Regions from separate parts of the Homo sapiens genome. Here region 1 is linked to region 2. Evidence: promoter capture Hi-C in human tissues and cell types (Jung and others, 2019). All regions are on one chromosome and are shown on one strand. Each heading gives the region's core, a stretch centred on a gene start or on the middle of the fragment in contact. The rest is flanking DNA. Distances are from core to core; before and after follow the strand shown. Region 1 holds the start of KRT83 (keratin 83). Region 2 holds the start of KRT71 (keratin 71).

Region 1 (3,511 bases), core at 466-2,965, 230 kb before region 2:
AGCTCACCTTACTATGAGGATTAAAAGAACCCTTTAACAGAAAGGCACCCCACACTGAACAGCTACTGCTGTTCAATCACACCAAGCCAGGTGGACCTTTTTAGAAAGGCAAACTGTAAAAGTTGAAAAATAAAGCATGTGCCAATTATTCAAACCCTACAACAACAATGCAATTAGAATAATAGTCACCTGCAATATGAGAGTAGGAATGTCCTGTGCTCCAACCCCCTTATTTTACTGATGAGGCCAAGGAGGTTCCCTGACTGCCTGAGAGCTCACAGTGGCAGAGAAGAGCTCAAACTCCGATCTTCTGCGCTGCAGGGGGTGTCTTCTCTCCCTTTGACAATTATAGGAACATCCCTCTCCCAGCGATGAGGTTGGCCCACTACTCCACTCAGCTTCTTTTGTCTAATAACTTGGCCACACCCTTGGTAGGTCCTATCTTATGCTATCCTTGGTCTCTCATGCTATTAGAAATTCCACATTTTTTTTTCCCGATCCTTTCTGGTGGGCATCTCTCTAGTGTGACTCCTCTCTTGAGGTTTTGGCTCTGGAGGGCTCTTTCCAACCCCAGAACATGTTCCTAGTCAGAGCCTTTTCTCCCAGTCTCTCACATCACTGCCACATGGTGGTTGCCTGGATTCAGTGGAGAAGGTGGCTGCAAACTCTAGTTGGACACTGACTACACAGATGGTTTCAACCAAACCCAGACTGTGCACTGCCTGCCTCCCCATAAAGCCTGTGAGGATGGGGACCATGACTCTTGCTCACCCCTGGATCCTGAGCCCCAGGAACAGTGGCTTGGACAAAATACTCTAGACCCTGCTCAGTGGCCAAATCACTGTGTGGTATAGAAAGAGTTCTGTGCCATCCACGAGACCCACTTCCAGACAGTTTTCCAGCACCACACTTATTAGCCCTGCCTTGATGGAGACAGCATCTCCTTGGCATTTAAGCAGTTATTTGGCTTCAAATGCCCTGAGCGCCCACACAGTGGTCCTTTGCTCACTAGGTGATATTATCACTCAGTGTGGAAGGCTCTGCCCCTCGTTCTGCTTTTGTGTTTTCAGTTAATCTCCCCCATCAGTCTGGTAGCTCCCGGTCCCATTTTTGTCTTTCTGTCTGTGTCCTAGAAGTATGACTACCTTTCCCTTTGGCCTGGGAACTTCTGTGGGCAAGTTCTTGCCTTTGACTTCCCTGTCAGTGCCCAGCCTGAGTTCTGAACATGAGTAGGGGTTCAGGAAGGGTGTGATCCAGGACGACACCCACCTTGTCGATGAAGGCCGCGAATCTGCTGTTGAGGGACTTGATCTGCTCCTTCTCCTCCTGCTTCACGCACTGCGCGTTGGGGTCTATCTCCAGGTTGAGGGGCGTGAGGAGGCTCTCGTTGACCGACACGGTGGTGATGCATGGGGGGCTGGGTCCGCACACGCCCCCGGAGCGGTAGCCGAAGCTGCGTCCGCAGGAGCCGGCGCGGAAGCCCCCGCACACGCTGTGGCTGCCAAAGCCCCCGGTGAGGCCGCGGTAGCAGGAGATGCCGCGGTAGGGGGCGGCGGTGATGCAGCAGCGGCTTGGCCGGGGCCCGCAGGCAGAGACACAGCTGAAGTTTCCAGGGCGGAACCCACAGCCTATGGAGTTGAAGCCACAGGTCATGACGGAGGTTAGGAGGTGTCTGAACAGTGGAGTAGATGGCAGAGGATGGAACCAAGGGCCTGTGCTCCCTGGCTGATGGCAGGCCCTTTTATGTGCCAGGGGCAGCTGGTGTTAAAAGAGGGAGCAAAGAGACAATAGCTGAATTTTATTGGCTTGGCATCACCCTGGCCTCTTAAGCTAGAACCCTGCTTGCCTCTTCAGTGTGGCTGCATCAACAATCCCTGGCCACGGGCCCTGTTTCATCTTCAAAGCCCTTTATAAGCTTCCTCCTTGCTCCTGCCCCTCCCACTGGCACTGCTGTGGAGCGGGGAGAGGGGTTCCTGAAAGCATTAGTTGCATTCTGCGGTCCAAGCGAGGGGAATGGGTGCAGTGACCTGGGGTAAAGCCTGCTCTCTGAACCCTGTTCTGAAAGGGGCAGAGCTAGGCTATGGGCCCTGGACCCATGGCCAAGCCCTGGGGTGGAGTGGCTGGCCTGTCCCAAGGAGGGGGCTGCCTCTGAGACAACCTCTTGCTGTAGGCTTTCCTGTCTTTTTCTCAAAGGCGGGTTCCTTTCCTCATTGTCAAGATTGGCCGCTCCTATCCTATTCCTGCTCAGAGCCTGGTCAAGGATGGGAGTGGGGGTAGAGATTTGGGGTGGGAGGAGGGCATGTTCTTTGCACTTTGGGTATTCCTAGTGCAGGGACACCATCTGGGACATGGAAGAAACTGATTCAGAGAGTTCAGGACAGTGCCAGGGCTATGCTTCAGAGTTCCAGGTGTCATTGCTGATGGGATCAGGAGCGGGGAGTGTGGAATACCTCAGAGCTCCAGGGACTCATGGAGGAGAGTGGGGACCTGGGCTTGAGGAGGATTGGGGTGGGGTAGTACAGGATTGAGAGATGACCAGAAAAGAGTCTGGCTCTGATTTGCAGACTAGACTATGTGTATTCATTTATTCATTTATTCATTTATTCATTTATTCAGGAAATACTTATTTGGTGCCCACCAACTATGCACTAGCCACTGTGCTAGGTTCTGGAAATCCTACAGAGACCTGGGGTGTTTGGAGGTAGCATGCATGTGGGGGAGCCAACATTTGGCTAGGGGGAAAGATGAGAAGCCACAGATGGGGGGAAGGCCCTCACAATGTCCAGGCTGATTGGTGTTCTTTAGGTTCCCAGCAGGGAAGCTCAGTGATGGGGTCTTGGGGTGTATGTACTCACCAGGAAGGAGGGAAGGTGCGGGAGGTGAGGGACATCAGCAGGGTCCTTAAATGAGATCACTCTCTCACCTCAGAGAACACACTGGGTGAGAGAAGGGTGCTAGCTCATGTGGCTGTTCCTAAAGCCAAGCTCTCTTACTTTGGGCCCTTGTTCCTTTGGGTTAGGACAGGCAATGGCTTTGATGGATGGACAGTCGGACCGAGCCAGGAGGTTTGCCTTAACCCGAGGACCTGAGCCCATCAACCCTTCCAAACACACATCTCTGGACTGCTTTCGTCAGGAGAGGATGAGGAGGACTCCACTGATGGACCTGTGTCCTGACCCAGCCACAACCCAACACTGACCCACTCTGGGCTAATAGTAACCCTCCTGTGACTCTCATCTTTTGCCCTTCCCACTCCCGCTCAGGATGAGTGGGCCAGTTATATCCCAGAGTGGGGATCTGGGGATGATGGAAGAGGGGCCCATCTTCTGTGGGCCTGAGGGAGGGCAGGCGATGGTGCTGTTGAAATCTCTTAGGGAGCTGGACATCTGCCATGGATCCAAAAAAAGGACTCTCCTAGCCTCTCTTCTTGGGTCCTGTGGACAGGCTTCCAGAGTCTTGTGTCTGGGGCAGGAACTCTGGGGGTGTGGGCTGTGTGATAGGGGATCCTGGT
Region 2 (3,820 bases), core at 336-2,835:
CTGAGCTGCAGGAGCTGGCTAAGCTCTGATGGCCACATGACCGTCTCACCCATAGACTTTGTCCTGGGTTGACCCGTCCTTGGTGCCTGACTGCCACAGAGCCAACAGAACCCTCCAGTCTCCTCCTCTGGGTCTGGAGGCAAAAGGCTGAGGGTCCAGCCTCACCCTTCCCTTTCCCCAAATGACCCTGGGAATGCCATTTACCTCCATGCCTTCAGTGACTCATACGATAGGGATAATCATTTCTTCTCTGCCAGAAGTCAGGGGCCTATCTGGACTGTGTCATCTCTTCAGGTCTCTAGACACCTTTGATTCCTCCCCTGAGCTTCCCTCCCCCACATTCCAGAGATAAGAAATGAGAGTCACAATCACAATCATTTTTGGAGTATTTAGTGTGCGTCAGGCTTGTGACAAGATCTTCACCTGCATTTTCTTTTATAAGCCTGACAACAACCCCAAGACAGAAGTTATTATCTCCATTTTAGAGATGAGGAGATGGCAACACAGACAGGCAGATCACCTTCCCAGAGCCACTCAGCTGTGGCCAGCAGTGAGCACAAGAGCACCGTGGAGTCCCCTTCCCCAGTGCCCTCTTCTGCCTCTCAAGAAAGTCTTCAACTGACTGGAGCAAATGCCCAATCAGAGGGCCTGAAGCGGCCCCTTCCTGCTGCTCCTGATCCGCTGGGCAAGTGACCAGTGGGCAGGGCAGCATGCCAGGGGAGGAGGACAGCTTCCCTGCTTACTCTGGGCGAGACTGGCTCTCACAGGCCTTTTCTGCACACGGCCTGCAGGCCTAGCAATGGCACCAAGCTAGCCCTCAAGAGGAAGGACCACATCTCTTGCTGGGAGCCCTGAGAAGCCTCTGCCAGTAGAAATTGACCTGCCTCTGTTTTCTCTCTGGAAAGACAACACAGAGAACCTTACACAGGTCACCCTGTTGATGGGATGTACCTACCTTGTCCACAGTAAAGTCTTCCTCACATCTAACCTCAATCTCTCCTGCTGTAACAAAATCGTATGTTCCAAGAAGAGAAGAGGAGGGCTGTTCACAAGTTCCCCAGGCCCTAGAAGACCCACCTTGTCGATGAAGGAGGCGAACTTGTTGTTCAGAGCCTTGATCTGCTCTCGCTCCTGGGCACGCACTTTCTGGATCTCGGGGTCCAGCTCCACGTTGAGGGGGGCCAGGAGGCTCTCATTGACGGTAACCTGGTGGATGCCTCCAGGTGGGCATACAGTTGGGCACACAGGCCCCAGGGCCACACTGCCAAACATGCTTCCAGCAAAGCCACTGGCCCGGCCCCGGCCAAATCCATAGCCTCCACTCTTCCCGCTGCCACTGGCCACATTGAGGCTCCGGACACCCCCCAGGCTGTAGAGGCTCCGGCTGCCAAAGCCCCCACTGAGCCCTTTGCTCCCTGCCCGGAAGGAGGATGAGCTGCCCCCTGAGAGCACAGCTGAGCAGCCACTGAAGCCCCCCTTGGCGGCAGCTCCCGACTTGCAGGTGAATTGGCGGCTCATGTTGCTGGTGGAGACAAAGCTCAGATGCAGGAGGGAGGAAGGCAAAATCCCAAAAGGTTCTGCTGGTTGTAGTGAGGACTGGCAGGTGCCTTTATATGTGCTTGGCACTGGGGCTTGTGGATGGGCAGTCAAGAGCTTAATTCGTGGGTTTGGCTTGCCTGGGAGCAAGAAGTCATTTTCTCTATGCTGAGCTAGAGATCAAGCCCTCTCCACCTCTGAAACAACATGAAACCTTCAAATTGCTGGGCTTGCAAGCTTTGCTCATGTAATTTGGGTCTTATCTAATTAACCTGCTGTTATAGGGTAATTTGCCCCAGGCCCTGGCCTCTCCAGGGGGATGTCACTGGCACTGCACCATCCCTATCCTGATTAATCTTCTCTGGGTTGTTGGCTTCCTCCTGGGGATGCAGCAGGTGAAGACAGGATGGACTTTCCTGGATAGTTCAGGACACTGGGTAGAGTACTGGGGCCTCCAACTTCTGTTCTCCTCCTTCCTGGAAAGGGACTGATCAGGCATTACCTCTCCCCAGGCCTCCTGGAAACATAACCCATAGAGGGCAGCTGCTCTCACTCATGGGGTATTAGGAGGTGGAGTGACCCTCTCGCTAGCATGGGACAGAAGCAGCCCAGGCCAGAGCCAACCACGGGCACTATCCTCACTTCTCCCCCCTCAAACACCCATAATAAAGCAGGCTGGAGGCTTCAAACACTGGAGAAAATGAGGACGAGAAAAGGAGGATGGAGTTGGGGCAGGTGGCTGAGAAATTCAGGGACTTGACTGGAAGGAGGTACAGAGAAGACAAAGACAGAGGCTGGCCCATGGCCTGGAGGGTTATGGAGATTCCTGGGTGGTCCACTTCCTCATTTCTGTCTCTCCTCCAATGTGTATCTGCTAATAAGACTAGGAACAACTTGAGGACAGTAATCATCTGTTTAGAGTTCAAATAAAGAAGCTGTTATCAACATGAAACTTAACTCCTATTGCCTCTGTCCAGGCCCAAGTGAGCCAAGAACAAGGCTGGCTGAGCCCTCCCCAGGAGTGCAAGCCTCCAGGCAGGCTCAGACCAGAAAGACCCAATGGGGGCGACCCAGTAAGCACGATGTCATTCTACTCCAAACAGTCCTTTGATGCCAGCCCCAGAGACTCTGGCTGCAGCCCCTGCTTCCTAGCCACTGGCTCCTGTGTTGGGCCCCAGCTACTCCCATGATCGCCATTGCCACTGTGGCCCTATTCAACCCAAGGCAGCTCTGTCCCTGAAGATCACCCTTGCCCAGAGATCCCTGCTGGAGCCCCATGGGTGAACAGCAGCTCTTTGCTGGGTGGGGCACAGGAGGGAAGAAAATCTGGAGACAGGCTGGTTTGGGGCTCTCTCTCATATTGTTTAGGGGAAGAGCCTGGACTCCAGTCCCTCCCAATCCTCTGCATTCCTTCCTCTACTCTTGCCCCTGCCATTTTGTCTTCTTTGCTCTTACTGAAACTACCCGAATTTTCCTATCCCTGCCTTCTCTCTTTCTCACCTTCTCTCTCCATCCCTCCTCATCCCTCCCATCCATCTTCCCTCCATCCTTCCCTCTCAGCCTTTCGCCATCTCTTGTTCTGTCACTTCCCCATCCTGCTCTCCTCCAGGAGGTCTTCCTGCACCCACACAGGCCAGGTCTGAGCTCTCCTTACCTCCCTCCGCTCTGAACACATCCTTAGCATGTGCTGGTGGGGCTGCAACTCTGTGACAGCTCCCATGGGGATCCTCTGAAGCCATGTCACATGTCATCTTAGTTTTTCTTTGTAAGGCTAGCAGAGTCTTCTCCAGATTAGAGACCACCTAGTGCACTCTGAGATGGAGCAGGGACGCCCTCGTAGGGGCCTTCAGGTCCCCTCAAGCATGGAAATAAAGGACAATCTTGAGTTCCTTCAAGGGAAATTCTGGGCACCTTGCTAGCCTGGAGAAATAAATAAGCAACCTGACAAGCAAGAAGATAACAGTAGCCCAAAACAACAGCCACGAAAGCTGGAATCGTGGGATGTTTGGTTCCGCCATAGAAACTAAAGATAGCACCTTAACATATGTCCCAGAGTTGTTTGTCAGAAACCCAAACCCCACCAAAAGGGATGCCTGGGCACATAGACCTCAGATGAAGGGACACTGGGCACTGAGCTCTGACCACCACTCTTTGTTCTAAATTTCTTCCTGAGGGGCCTGAAGAATGTCACACCTACAAGCCAGAGCTAACACTCTTTTCTGCTGACCCCAAATTTTTAAACAAAGTTTCTCTTCCTTAACCAATTGCAAATCATAAAATCTTT

The links. The method cuts DNA at HindIII sites, captures the fragments that hold promoters and counts their contacts. A contact is called where the count stands out against the background at its distance.
Region 1: the fragment with the promoter of KRT83 here is called in contact with the fragment with the promoter of KRT71 in region 2 in 2 of the 25 tissues and cell types used here (adrenal gland and heart left ventricle).

What each region holds. Positions count from the first base shown.
Region 1 is chr12:52,319,683-52,323,193 of GRCh38, forward strand. KRT83 (keratin 83) reads right to left here and starts at 1,716. Exons shown (of 9, transcript NM_002282.3): 1 at 1,270-1,716. The coding sequence starts at 1,653. The HindIII fragment of the contact is 13,306 bases long and covers 1-3,511 here.
Region 2 is chr12:52,551,560-52,555,379 of GRCh38, forward strand. KRT71 (keratin 71) reads right to left here and starts at 1,586. Exons shown (of 9, transcript NM_033448.3): 1 at 1,078-1,586. The coding sequence starts at 1,518. The HindIII fragment of the contact is 12,426 bases long and covers 1-3,820 here.